Linked DNA regions of Homo sapiens: all the other regions are linked to region 2. Evidence: promoter capture Hi-C in 16 types of primary human blood cells and fetal thymus (Javierre and others, 2016). All regions are on one chromosome and are shown on one strand. Each heading gives the region's core, a stretch centred on a gene start or on the middle of the fragment in contact. The rest is flanking DNA. Distances are from core to core; before and after follow the strand shown.

Region 1 (4,828 bases), core at 1,231-3,730, 270 kb before region 2:
TTTTCGTATTTTTAGTAGAGATGAGATTTCACCATGTTGGCCAGGCTGGTCTTGAATTCCTGACCTCAGGTGATCCGCCCACCTTGACCTCCCAAAGTGCTGGGATTATAGGCATGAGCCACAGCACCCAGCCAAGAATCTTTTAAAAGAGGATCAGGAGTCATTTAAGTTTTTAAAAAATATTTGTATTTTTTAAAAAATGTATTATTATTTTTATTTCCATAGGTTATTGGGGAAAAGGTAGTGTTTGTTACATGAGTAAGTTCTTTGGTGGTGATTTGTGAGATTTTGATGCACCCATCACCCAAGCAGTATGCACTGCACCCAATTTGTGGTCTTTTATCCCTCACCCTCTGAGTCCCCCAAATCCACATGTTTTTCTTATGCCTTTGCATCTTCATAGCTTAGCTCCCACATGTGAGTGAGAACATATGCTGTTTGGTTTTCCATTCTTAAGTTACTTCACTTAAAATAATAGTCTCTAATCTCATCCAGGTTGCTGTGAATGCCATTAATTCATTCTTTTTTATGGCTGAGTAGTATTCCATTTGAGTAGTATTCCACAGTTACTACTGAGTAGTATTCCACAGTTTCTTTAGCCACTCATTGATTGATGGGTATTTGGGTTAGTTCCACGTTTTTGCAATTGCAAATTGTGCTGCTACAAACATGTGTGTGCAAATATCTTTTTCATATAATGACTTCATTTCCTCTGGGTAGATACCCAGTAGTGGGACTGCTGGATCAAATGGTAGTTTTACTTTTAGTTCTTTAAGGAATCTCCACACTGTTTTCCATAATGGTTGTACTAGTTTACATTCCAGCAGCAGTGTAAAAGTGTTCCCTGTTCACCACATCCATGCCAACATCGATTTTTTTTTTATTTTGGCCATTCTTACAGCCAGCTGATCTTCAACAAAGCAAACAAAAACATAAAGTGGGGAAACGACACCCTATTCAACAAATGGTGCTGGGATAATTGACAAGCCACATGTAGGAGAATGAAACTGGATCCTTATCTCTCACCTTATATAAAAATCAACTCAAGATGGATCGATGACTTAAATCTAAGACCTGAAACTATAAAAATTCTAGAAGACAACATTGGAAAAGCCCTTCTAGACATCGGCTTAGGCAAGGATTTCATGATCAAGAACCCAAAAGCAAATTTAATAAAAACAAAAACAAATAGCTGGGACTTAATTAAACTAAAGAGCTTTTGCACTGCAAAAGGAACAGTCTGCAGAGTAGACAGACAACCCACAGAGTGGGAGAAAGTCTTCACAATCTGTATATCTGACAAAGGACTAATATCCAGAATCTACAACAAACTCAAACAAATTAGCAAGAAAAAACAAACAATCCCATCAAAAAGTGGGCTTAAGGACATGAATAGACAATTCTCAAAGGAGGGCATACAAATGGCCAACAAACATATGAAAAAATGCTCAACATCACTAATGATCAGGGAAATGCAAATATTTGTATTTTAAACAAAAAGGAATAAATGCACAGTGAAAAGTAAGTCTTTTTCTACCCCAGGCCATCAAATCCCTAAACCTCTAGGCTTCTAGTGCCTCTTCCCAGAGCAACCTGTCTTACTAGTTTCTTGTATAAGGAATCATATAAAGCTGGTGAACCACATGAAAATGAATGCTTGCTTCTTATTATCCACAGTATGAACTTTGATTTGCAGGGATTAACAGGAAGAGCAAGCACAAATAGGACCATCTCTAGAAAACCCCTCCTTGATTATCCCAGGCAGATGTTCTCAGTGCCTCCCAAGCTTCTTCATGGCTTAAAAAAATTGTACTGAAATCCATAACATAAAATTTACTATTTTAATTGTTTTTAAAATGTACAGTTTAGTGGCATTACGTATGTTCTCATTGCATAGCCACCACCACCATCCATTTCCAGAACGTTTTCATCATCTGAAACAGAAATCCTTTACTCATGAAACAATAACTCCATATTCCCCCTCCCTCATAGCCCCTGGTAATGATTCTTCTACTTTATGTCTCTATAAATGTGACTATTCTAGGGATCTCATGTAAGTGGAATAATACAATATTTGTCCTTTTGGGCCTAGCTTAATTAACTTGGCATAATGTCCACAAGGTTCATCTATGTTGTAACGTGTCAGAATTTCCTTCTGGCTGAATTAAATTTATTGTTATGTATACACCACATTTTGTTGATCCATTCATCTATCAATGGATATTTGAATTGTTTCCAACTTTTGGCTATTGTGAATAAAGCTGCTATGAACACTGGTGTACAAGTATCTGTTAGAGTTTCCGCTTTAAATTCTTTTGTTTCCTTTGCGTCTTTTTATGGCATACTATTATTTATTGTAGTTGATGAGTGGATGCACACATGCTTTAAATTCCCTATTAAATTCTAACCCCTTGAGTGCAGGGCCCTTGATTGTTTTTTTCACTCCCACAGTCATACATTTGTCCATTCAACAATTCTTTATTGAGCATTGCTGAGTACGAGGCACTATGCTAGACTTCGGGGATACAGGGTGTAATGATGAACGTGAGCTGTATCCTCTAGCAGCATACGTCTAGTGAGGTACATTTTTATTTATAATTGTATCTGATACAATGTCTTGCACATTGTAAATATTCAACAAATGTTTGTTGACTTGTTGGTTGACTTATTGACTTCATGTATCTTCAGAGGTTCCTGAAAGTGTCATATCAATTATTGGATAGCAGTACAAATTTTTTGAACAAATGTAACAAATGTTAGAGTATGACTTTCTTGTTCCTTACTTTATTTATAGCAGATAGGATGGTGTCTATCATACAGTACGGGCTCAATAGTTTAAATAGTTTTAAAATGAAAGGTGATTACATAATTTGCCATAGAGAATTCTGATAAGGGCCAGACATTAATGCTCATATATTATGAATGGAAAAACTGAGGCATTTAAGAAAATCCAGAAAAGTAGTGACCAAGTCAGGAATAAACCTGGGTTTATTGGCCTGCAGCCTAATGCCTTCTGCCCTCCATCACACCAGTGCGTAAAATTAGAACTGATATCCCACCTTTCTGCGAAAGATGTGAACTTTAATTAGGTGTAATCACACACAGTATGGAGAAGGTTTAAGGCCTTTAAATTTCCTAAAAATGAAAATGAATCAGATTCTAAAATAAGCTTGTTAAATGCTATTCTTAAATAAAAAAGATAGTAGCATATGATGGTGAATTGCTTTTGCTGCTGTGAGAGGTGAAGTGTTGCTGTGCCACCTGCTTGGGAAGACCAAGCTGTGTCTAATCTTATACATCATTTTTCTGCTCATTCAGCTCAACCTCATTCCTGACTGTCCATGAATTATTGAGGCTTTTTGTATCTTTTGAGCAATCTGATTTAGAAATATTTAATCCTATGTTATATGAGCTAGAGTTTAAATCACTTTATTTTATTAAGAATTCTGACTAAATTTTTCATGAAGGAGAAGGTTGAGGTTTTAATTATTTATAAGTTTTTGGATTATTTGTGAATCTGAAGGCCAAGTTTTTCTTATAAATTTAAGATATTTCAGTTTCAAAAACTATCCTGTATTTGAGATACGTAAACTCATTTAATAAACCTAAGTACATTGGGAAAGTGAGACAGTGGGGAAAAAAAGAAAAAAGAAAAAACAAAACCTAAGTACAGCACAGATTGGAAACCCCAGGAGAGCATAGACTGAATTCACACTCAAGCTTAGCTGCTCAAATCCTGAAACTGTCATTGGTCCACTGAAGGTACAGGAGTCAGAGGACCTTAATTCATAAGGCAAAGGATTGTATATATAGATATAAGGAGTTTGACATTTTAAGAAGAGTGAATTGAGCAGAAATTCTCCAGAAGAACTTAAAGAGAACAGAGTGGACTCTTCCCCATTCTACCGGTTCTGGCCCCAAAGTTATAAAGGGCTTGGATACAAAGGTCAGACTTGTTATCTTGTTGATGCTCAGATTTTCTAAATAATGAAATGTGTTTTTGCCTTTATGACAACAGGAAATGCTCAGAAGCCTTCAGACTTGGCATAATTTGTCATAAGAATGTAGCTATTCCATTGATTTTGTTGTTGTCAAATTTGTGCATTCTCCATTGTACCTTTTTTTAGAGTCAGGAGGAGGAAGGTAACCTGGCCAAGTGGTGGCCCATGGTGTTACTTCTTTGTTACCAGCCTTATGTGATTTGGGTGAAATAGGTGTAAGTGCGCATTGTGGTGGGAAGGGTCAGAGCAATCAGCAGGGGTCATATGGTGAAATCAAAGACAGGAAAATGGGTTTTGGCCAAAAGTTGTATTGGTGACTGACTCAGAATGTGTTGACTCCCACTCTGTGTTCTGGAGAATGACTGGAGCTCTCCCTCCAGTGGGCCATACTTTCTCCCTATCCAACCATATGTAATGACAAAAAACCCTCCCTCTTAATAAGCTCTCCCTTGATCCTGCCAGGCAACTGTCAGTGCCTGTGAGAGTAAAGATCAGCAATTCTTGCTGTTTTGGTCACTTACATGTGTTCTTTGGCAGAGAGTTTGGTGTTTTGCAATACAGATGGAGAGAGGCAGTCAGAGGAGGAACTGAGGTTGGCGTCAGGAGAAAGATGCAGGCGGACAAATCTAAGGTCAAATATTCTCTCCCGCATCTAAGACAGTGAACAAAAAGCAGACACCTTTGGTAGTTCTGGCCTCTAATAATATAAACAACTTATTTGCCAAGGTACTATGCCAAATGCTTTATAAGTAGCACCTCATTAAATTCTTACAATATGGCCGGGCGTGGTGGCTCACGCCTGTAATCCCAGCATTTTAGGAGGCTGA
Region 2 (4,390 bases), core at 385-2,884:
TGGAGGGGGACAGCAGTATGTCTCTTTCAGCATCACCATCTGGAATGGATTGGTGTTAATGAGTCACTTCATTCTTAAATTGATACAAAAGCATGGGCACCAACTCCCCTCTCTCCTGCTGTGAGCAACTCTCAGTCTCACTGGGAAGGACTGACTTGGAAAACCATTTTTCCATAAAACAGTCTGTGATTGATAAACAAGCATTCAGCGTAGCAACCCATTAAAACAAACAAACAAAAACAAGTTTCAGATGGGCTTGACACATGGAAGAGTGGAAGAGTGTTACCTGGTGGACTCCTGCTTGTAGATGTCAATGATATTTTCCACCAGCAGGTTCCTCTGAAGTCCATATACCCCATGTCTATCCAAAACCACTTCATGTCTACAGGATGGGCAGCGGAATCGGCCCCCTGATGCCATGGTGGTACCTCCTCTTGTGGGCAAATACGGGTTAGAGGCCTGTTCTTGCCAAGTAAGAAAAAAGGAATTGGGTAATGCCACAAGCAGCTTCTCTGAGACTTATTTTCACTCTCTGCTACTACAAACAACATGAACTTCTACTTTAAGCTTGCCATAAGATCATCCCTCAGGGCTTTCTCAGCAAGTGGTCCTGAAACACAGGGTCAGACCTTATCCACAGTCATCTGCGAATATACCATTGTCCACGTAAGGTGCTTTTCCGTCCACCACTTTCAGAACCAAAAGTTCCAGCCAGAAACTCCACACTCATGTCTTCAGCAGTTACTCATTTATAGTTTTGAAACACATTAAATGGTTTGACTTAAAAAAAAATATGATTCTTAGTATTAAAATAAAACTAGATTTGGGAGTAAAGAGGACACAAACCAAATCATTAAAAGAAACGTGTTTTTCTTGAAAGTAAATGCAACTTTATAAAGTTTTTTTGTTTGTTTGTTTTTCTTTTTTTGAGACAGAGTCTTGCTCTGTTGCCCAGGCCGGAGGGCAATGGCACGATCTCCGCTCGCTGCAATGTCCGCCTCCTGGGTTCAAGCAATTCTCCTGCCTCAGCCTCCCAAGTACCTGAGATTATAGGTGCCCGCCACCATGCCCAGCTAATTTTTTTTTTTTTGTATTTTTAGTGGAGATGGGGTTTTGCCATGTTGGCCAGCCTGGTCTCGAAGGCCTGACCTCAGGTGATCCACTGGCCTCAGCCTCCCAAAGTGCTGGGACTACAGGCGTGAGCCAAAGCGCCCGGCAACCTTATAAAGTTTTTTAAAGGATTTCACCTCAATGTTAAGCACTTGATTCCAAGAGGAGGGAATCTTTTCCACCCCCTCCCCTCAACCAAATTCCAAACAAACCTACCTGGAAAATATCACTGGCACATTTCCTACACAGGTTGTGCTGACAAGGGAGAATCACCACAGGTTTCGTGAACATCTCTAAGCAGATGGGACAGATGAGTTGCTTCTCTAAGTTATCCATGGTCTGCTGCTCTTTGGAAAAAGATTTGTAATTCAGAGATGCGCTCATCTCCTCGCTGTCCCCAAGTGTGCTGCCAGGGAAGGGTGCTGCGAGTGGCTCCAGCAAGTGTTTCCTGGATATTATTCCAGGGATTGTGTGATCAAGTGTCCTTTACGTTTCTCTCGGTGGAGGACATTGTTTCAGGCCCTGGTTTGGAGTGGGTGCTGGAGCTGTTTTTAGCAGCCTGCGGTCACGTGACGGTGGGCTGACGTGTCCATATAAGCCAGTGACAGGAGGATGGATCCTGACAGGTGACGGAGAGCAGGAGTCAACATTCTTGCCCCAGGGAGTGAAGAGAGTGGGTGGGAAGGAGGATTACAAACCCCATTTAGACGGGGTTGTGAGGAGAAGGAGGTCGAAGCTGACAGTTGTCAACAACAAATGCAAATGTGCATGCCTAGCCACTGAACCATGCCCTCTGTGAGCACTCACTGAGAACTTGGCGATGGCTTCTCCAGGAAGGGGCAGAACGCAGCACAGAGTCTGTGTAACTAATGCCAGCCCTGTCTTGAGAGTGTAGGAATTGAGTCACGGAAAGTAGCCTAATAGCACCTTCTTAGGTGAAAATGAACAAAACATGTCTCGAAAATTGTTATCCTGGCTTCACAAAGGCAATCATCAAAAAGACTTTCTTAATGTTAAGTATTTCATCTTTGTCAGCTGGGGTTGTGGTCTTTGAAAAATTCCAATTTAAAAGCTAAATTCAAATCCCTTCACCATAAAGGTATCCACCTAATAAATAAATAAATACATGCATAAATAAAAATTCAAAACCAGTGGATGATCTAATTATTTGAGAAAAAAGTTACATTATAAAACAACTCTAGTATGCTGTTTGCTCTTCCACATTGCTTTCCTCTTCCTTGGCCCTCTTTCATCCTATACTGCCCCACCTCCTACATACACCCAAAAACACAAAGAAAATTTGATAGTCTTTTACTGATTATTTAAATTCTTAAATTATATAATAGTTTGCAACAATAATCTGTAATGAGGTAGTAACTGGCAGGCACCTGGAGGTGGCAGATCTATTATTTTATTTTGTCATCCCTTGGGGGACAGTTACCAGTGCCATTGACAACTGAAGTATAAATGGAGTCCTACTTCCATATCTGCATTTCATCTGCCTCCAAAATACCTATTCTCCCTTGCATTTCCCCTTCCTCCAAGGTGACTTGTTAAACCATAGTTTCTCTGGTCATTTCTGATATTCTTGGTCTGCTCTTGAGTCATAAACATCGATTCTGACATTCATCAGGATTTTGTGAAGCAACAGTTTAACCAATACATATTGTATTTAAAAATGTTTAAATCAGATCAAAAATAAAAAAGAAATCCAAGTCTGTTTATATGTGATAAATTTCGGCTTTCTTTCTCCTTCATTTTAAAAACCTTGGGCAATAAACACATTTTGTTAACATATCCCTGGTGTGAATTAAATTACCAGTGAAGTGTAGGTCAGTTATGTGTGGTCTTAGTGCTGTGTGCACGGAGAGCTTATTGAGAATCTAGTAAGCTCTATTAACTAATAATAAGTTATATATATTCATAAGCATATCAGGGATCTTTAGAGAATTATCTTAGTCCTTTCAATATTTATTTAGCAACTACAGGGAGGACGGGAACTGGTAAAGTTTTTTTACTGAGTTACTTTGGTTCACCCAGCCTAGGCAGTTAATTGTGTTTATCAATTCATGGGCTATGGAGGGGAGGTCTGAGTACAATATGTGGGATATTTTCTAGGAAAGATTAAGTTTCTACTGCAAAAGACCTTGCTATCTAAGTAAAAGCACTTAGACTAATCATGCACATTGCAGCAGAGTCTTTTCTTTTAGAAGGAATTCATTCCTTCAAAATACATTCATTGGATATGTGTAGTGTGTCTCCATTGTGTGAGGCTCTGGGTATTGAAAGATGAACAAGACATAGGTCATTGGCCTCAAGGAGCTCAGTATAAGAGTGGAGATGAGACATGCACACACAGAACATAGTACAAAATAAAATGTGATAAAGAGTACAAGCCAAAAAGTACCTGAGACAGGTCTCAATCGAGAAAGTTTGTTTTGTCAAGGTTAAGGGCGCGTGCCAGGAGGCAGGCCTGCATCTTTCTCCAAAGAAGATTTCGAAGGCTTTAATATTTAAAGGGAAAAGAATGGATATTGGGGAAAGAGAAAAAAAATTTCAGTTGTGGGTAGATAAGAGGCAAACAGTTGCATTCTTCTGAGTCTTTGATCAGCCTTTCACCAAATACATAATTTACATGTTGGGGCTGGGCGGTGGGTAGAGGAATAATAGTCATTTATGTCTTCCTTTAGCTCAGTGAGTCTGCATTTTTACATTAGAGGAAGAAAGCAGATATGCATTTGTCTCAGGTGAGCAGAGAGATGACTTAGAGTTCTGTCCTTCGTACCATGCCTGTGAAGATAAGCTGTCAATTTACACTGTCAGGGTAAAATTCAACAAAACTGTTTTAGGGTAAAGATATTGGGGCCTATAAGGAATTTCCCAGTGTGCAAATTGTAAGGGAGGTATGTAGCGTTTAAATCTTTGTAGCTATCTTATTTAGGAATAACGTGGGAGGCAGGTTTGCCTGACGCAGTTCCCAGCTTGACTTTTCCCTTTGGCTTAATGATTTTGGGATACCAATATTTATTTTCCTTTCACAACAGCTACAGCATTTCAGGGTCAGAGGAATCAGAAGGGCTTCATGGGTGGGGGTAGTGTTTGAACTGCTGCACCGAGGATCTCAGAGGGATGGACGTGTAGTTAGGTGGGGCATGGCTGGGGCTTTCCAAGAGAAGGCACAGAAGCAGCAACATGGGCATGCACAGGCATGCAGGGGATCTCAGAGCCACGGTGGCTTGAGCTGGAGTGCAGGCACGCGCTCAAGCATTGGCTGGCCATG
Region 3 (4,731 bases), core at 686-3,185, 290 kb before region 2:
AGGAGAGGGAGATAAATGAAGGCTGGAGGGAGTAACTGGTGAAGGCTTTATGAAAGAGGAAGTTCCTGAGTTGGCTTTGGAGCCTGAGTTTTAATAGATAGGAGAAGGAAAGGAGCATTCCAGTAGATGGTAACAATATGAATAAAGGGATGTAGCTAATTCTTATGGCAAGTATAATATGTCAGTCACTGATTGTCTTTATAAATCCCACAACAGGCCTAAGAGGTAGATGTTATCAATATCCTCATCTTATAGATGAGAAGACTGAGGGTCATAAAGATTAAGTTATTAAGTTACTATGCAGTTAATAGTTTGTAGAATCAGGATTTGAACCTTTGCAGTCCGATCTCAGAGTCCATGCACATAAACACTACATCATAAAGCTTCTTCTTTCTGGTTCACTAGCAATTTGATTTGCCTAGAATAGATGATTTGTATTGGGGACAGGTAAGAAATAGGCTTGGCAAATGGTCAGGATGGTGCCAACTGTGGTGCAACTTTAGGATCAAGAAGAAGAATTTCAATTTGATGCTATAGGCAATAGGGAGTCATGGAAGGTTTTAGACCAGTGAAGACATAACCACAATGGTATTTTCTTAACTTTATTATTTAAATCTTCCATGTTCTTACTAATTTTGTGTTTTCTTGATCTATCAGTTACTGAAAGATGTGTTGAAACTTTCTACTTTGATTATAAATTCCCATTCTGTATTTGATGCTCTAATATTAAAAGCATAACATTTTGAATTGCTGAATCTTCCTGGTGGTGTTTTCCTTTTATCTTTTTATTATAACATAGCGAACATCTTTATTCCTGAAAATGCTTTCAATGACACTATAGCTATATTGTTCTTGGTTAGTGTGTACCTGGTACATCTTTTTTCATTTTTTTGTTTCCAACCTCTTTGCATCCTTTTGCTTTAGCTATATGTCTCTTTAAGCAATATATATCTGAATTTTGTTGTTGATTTGTTTTTTATATGAAAACTGCCAATATCTGACTTTTAATTAATACAGTTAGATTATATTTATTGTAATTACTGATGTATTGAATTTATTTCTATCTTATTTTGTGCTATCTGTCTACCTGGACTTTTCTATTTCTATTTTTTCCTCTGCTCCTACATTTTAATAGCTCGCTTGAGTTTTCTTTTACATTTTAACCTTAACTTCCTATGGTTTGGAAATTTCTATCCTTCTGGGGTGATCCTTTAAGTGTTGACAGCATAATTGACTTAAATCTAAAGTTAAACAACTTTACCCTTCTCCTATCAAATATATGAATTTTTGAATGGTTTAACTCTGACGACACTCTTTTTCATAAACACTACTATTTTCCTGAGTTTTAGTTCCATCTTGTTTTTAGGCACTACAGATTAATCATCTTCAAAACACTATTTTATATAGTGAAATTTGGACATATGGTTATATATTTCTTTGCTCATCACTCCTTACATTTCGGCCCTTCCTTTTTGGTTCATTTTCCTTCTTCCTGAAACACATCTTTTAGTAGTTTTGTTGGTGAGGGTCAATTAGTAGTAAACACTTGTAGTCTTTGTTCCTGTGGCTTTATTTCACCCTCACTGTTGAATGGTAAGTTGGCTGGATTTGAAATCCAGGCTGCCAGTTTTTCTTTTTTGTTTTTTGTTTTTTTTCAGTTCTTTGAGGATATTATCCCATTATCTTTTGTTTTATTTTGTTTTGTTTTCTTGCTGCTGCTAAAAAATCTGTCAGTTGAATTGTCATTCCATGTAGATTACTCCTATGTTAGATGCAGAGATGTGCCTCCCAGATCCCTCTTCCAGGAGGCACTTCCTGTCCAGATGGGGAGGACTGTGACCATCACACAGCCTCTACCTGTCAGCTCTTTTCAGATCTGTCTCAGCTGCAGAGAACTGCTTCCCCTGAACTCATGTTCTATGGAATACCTGCCTTCTGCAACTGAGCGTGGCAGGGATAGACAGACCTGGCCACCCGTTTCAGCCCAGTGCAGGACACTCTGAAAGGTTACTCTTTCCTCTGAGCTCCCTGCTGGGTTGGCTGAGGCCTTGTCAGGCCACATCACAGTGTGATTTCTCCCTCTGCTCAGTTCTCCTTCCACCCTTTTCCTCTCCTGGGAGTTGATCCCTAATAAACATTTTGCACCCAAAACTCTATCTCATTGTCTACTTACTTCTGTTTTCTCTGTGGCTTCATCCAAGGTCTTCGCAGTGTCTTCGGGTTCTGTGGTTTCACCAAAATAGTTCTAACTGTGGATTTCTTTGTATTTACCATACTCAGGATTTCTCTTTCCTGAACCAGAGGGTTTATGTCTTTCATTAACATTATTAGTCTTTCTCATTTTGAGTATTTGCCCTGCCATTTCTTTTTTCTTTTTCAGGAATATGAATAAATACATTAGGCCTTTGTTTTGCTTTGTTTCTGTGTGCTGTCTTCAGGGTACTCCCTCAGGTTGGTTTCCCAGTTCACTAATTTTCCCTTCATATTTATATTAACTGCTTTGTAAACTATCTATTGAGAGCCAGGTGCAGTGGCTCACACCTGTAATCCCAGTGCTTTGGGAGACTGAGATGGGAGGATAGCTTGAGGCCAGGAGTTTGAGACCAGCCTAGGCAGCATAGTGAGACATCATTTCTTAAAAAAAAAAAAATTAGGTCGGTGCAAAAGTAATTGCGGTTTTAATTTAATTTATAAAAATTAGCCAGGTGTGGTGGCATGTGCCTGTAGTCCTAGCTACTCAGGAGGCTGAGGCAAGAGGATTGCTTGAGCCCAGGAGTTCAAGTCTGCAGTGAGCTGTGATTCTCTAAGTTGGGCAACAGAGTTTGACCCTGCCTCTAAAATAAATAAATACATAAATAAATAATCAATTGAACTTTTAATGAGCACGCTAGACTTTTGATTTGTAAAAATTCTAATTGTTTTGTTTTCAAGTCTGTTCTTTTCACATAGTATCTTGGGCTTTTTTCATATTTAAAGTTTGTCTTTTAGGTCTTTACTTAGAACATGTATTATGGTCTCCATCTGTTAGCTCTATTATCTAAACACTCCGAAGGCCTAATACTGCTTTTGTTGTGTATGTTGATTGATTTTCCATGTGTTTGGTAATTTTGAGTTATGCACTTGTTTTTGGCAAGGCTTTATCTGTGGGAATCCTGTGTAATCTGGATTAAGGGCATGTCCTCTCAGAGAAGTTTTGAATTTGCTTCATTGTTAGCTGGAAACCTTTTTTAAAAATTAATAACTTGGTTTAGGGGCTCCTAGATCATTTGGGTTATGTAAATCTAAACCCCAAACCCACATAAGAAGGAGCCCATAGCAAAATTGAGTTAAAATATTTTCAAAATTAGTTTTTATGGGTTATGTGAGATATTTTGATACAGGCATGCAATGCGTAGTAATCACATCAGGGTAAATGGGGTATCCATCATTTCAAGCGCAGGTAAAATATTTTTTTCACACCCGATCCAGGTTATGCCATTCAAGCTTCTTTATTATAATTTACTTCCATTACTGGTTGGATTTTTACTTTTTTTAGTTTACCCTTTCATCTAGGCCTATTTGGGGATGTTGTTTCTAATTTCCCACCTCATGTGGCCCGAGGTCTTTTCCCATGAGCAGTTAAATCCAAATCGCTAGGTGTTGGAGATCAGCACCCATCCTTTCCACCCTCCCAGGGCTGCTGTAACATTCTCTCTAGTTTCTAGTTCTTTCTTTGCTTTTGGTCTCTGAAACTATCTTTTCCTTTCATGAAAGCTCAACTATGAATTCAAAATTATGTTTGTCCTATTTCTTGCAACATTTTTGACATTTGCCATTGCACTCCAGCCTGGGCAACAGAGCAAGACCCCATCTCTAAAATAATAATAATAATAATAATAATAATAATAATAATTTTTAAAACCCAAACAAAATAAAAAAAAAAAGAAGAGGAACTTTGAACGTGGACACTTAAGAAGGAAGATGATGTGAAGACATAGAGAAGACAAACAACCATCTATAAGTCAAGGAATGAGGCCTGGAGCAAATCCTTCCTTCATGGTCCTTATAAGGAACAAACCCTGCTGACAGTTTGATTTTGGACTTCTAGACTCTAGAATATGAGAAAGTTCCTTTCCTTCCTTCCTTCCTTCCTTCCTTCCTTCCTTCCTTCCTTCCTTCCTTCCTTCCTTCTTTCCTTCCTTCCTTCCTTTTTTTGAGACTGAGTCTTATTCTGTCACCCAGGCTGGAGTGCAATGGTGCAATTTTGGCTTACTGCAACCTTCGCCTCCTGAGTTCAAGTGATTCTCCTGCCTCAGCCTCCCGAATAACTGGGATTACAGGCGCGTGCCACCATGCGCAGCTAATTTTTGTATTTTTAGTAGAGATGGGGTTTCATCATGTTGGTCAGGCTGGCCTCGAACTCCTGACCTCAAGTCATCTGCCCGCCTCAGCCTCCTGAAGTGTGGGATTACAGGCGTGAGCCACCATGCCTGGCCTAATTTCTATTGTTTAAGCCACTCAGTTTGTGTTACTTTGTTAGGGCAGCCCTAGCAAACTACTACACTGACCAACATATTGGTCATTTTTCTCATTTGTAAACTGAAGAAAAATTGCAATATCTTCTTCATCCTATTGTGAGGATTAAATATGATAATGTATGCACCATGTCTGGCACATAGAAAGTATTTGTTACATGTTAGCTTTTATTACTAGTATTGAACTTGGTATTGAATGTGGTTGTTACATCCTTTA

Evidence for each region. The method cuts DNA at HindIII sites, captures the fragments that hold promoters and counts their contacts. A CHiCAGO score of 5 or more calls a contact.
Region 1: a contact is called between a fragment that was not itself captured here and the fragment with the promoter of TRIM55 in region 2, in 1 of 17 cell types (endothelial precursors). The highest score is 5.6, in endothelial precursors.
Region 3: a fragment that was not itself captured here is called in contact with the fragment with the promoter of TRIM55 in region 2 in 4 of 17 cell types (endothelial precursors, naive B cells, total B cells and 1 more); the score reaches 8.5 in endothelial precursors.

Annotation. Positions count from the first base shown.
Region 1 is chr8:66,393,091-66,397,918 of GRCh38, reverse strand. The region is part of intron 1 of LOC102724687 (a long non-coding RNA gene); the gene reads left to right. Among named protein-coding and RNA genes, the nearest start is that of RRS1-DT, 33 kb to the left of the region's middle. The HindIII fragment of the contact is 1,383 bases long and covers 1,789-3,171 here.
Region 2 is chr8:66,124,373-66,128,762 of GRCh38, reverse strand. It overlaps TRIM55 (tripartite motif containing 55), which reads right to left and starts at 1,634. Exons shown (of 10, transcript NM_184085.2): 1 at 1,327-1,634; 2 at 287-459. The coding sequence starts at 1,494. RefSeq lists a silencer at 1,816-2,088 and enhancers at 3,804-4,368, 4,192-4,390, 4,369-4,390, 4,046-4,390. The HindIII fragment of the contact is 5,122 bases long and covers 570-4,390 here.
Region 3 is chr8:66,415,603-66,420,333 of GRCh38, reverse strand. It overlaps RRS1-DT (RRS1 divergent transcript), which reads left to right. Exons shown (of 3, transcript NR_040434.1): 3 at 1-747. All of the region lies in intron 1 of LOC102724687 (a long non-coding RNA gene), which reads left to right. Among named protein-coding and RNA genes, the nearest start is that of RRS1-DT, 11 kb to the left of the region's middle. The HindIII fragment of the contact is 3,100 bases long and covers 386-3,485 here.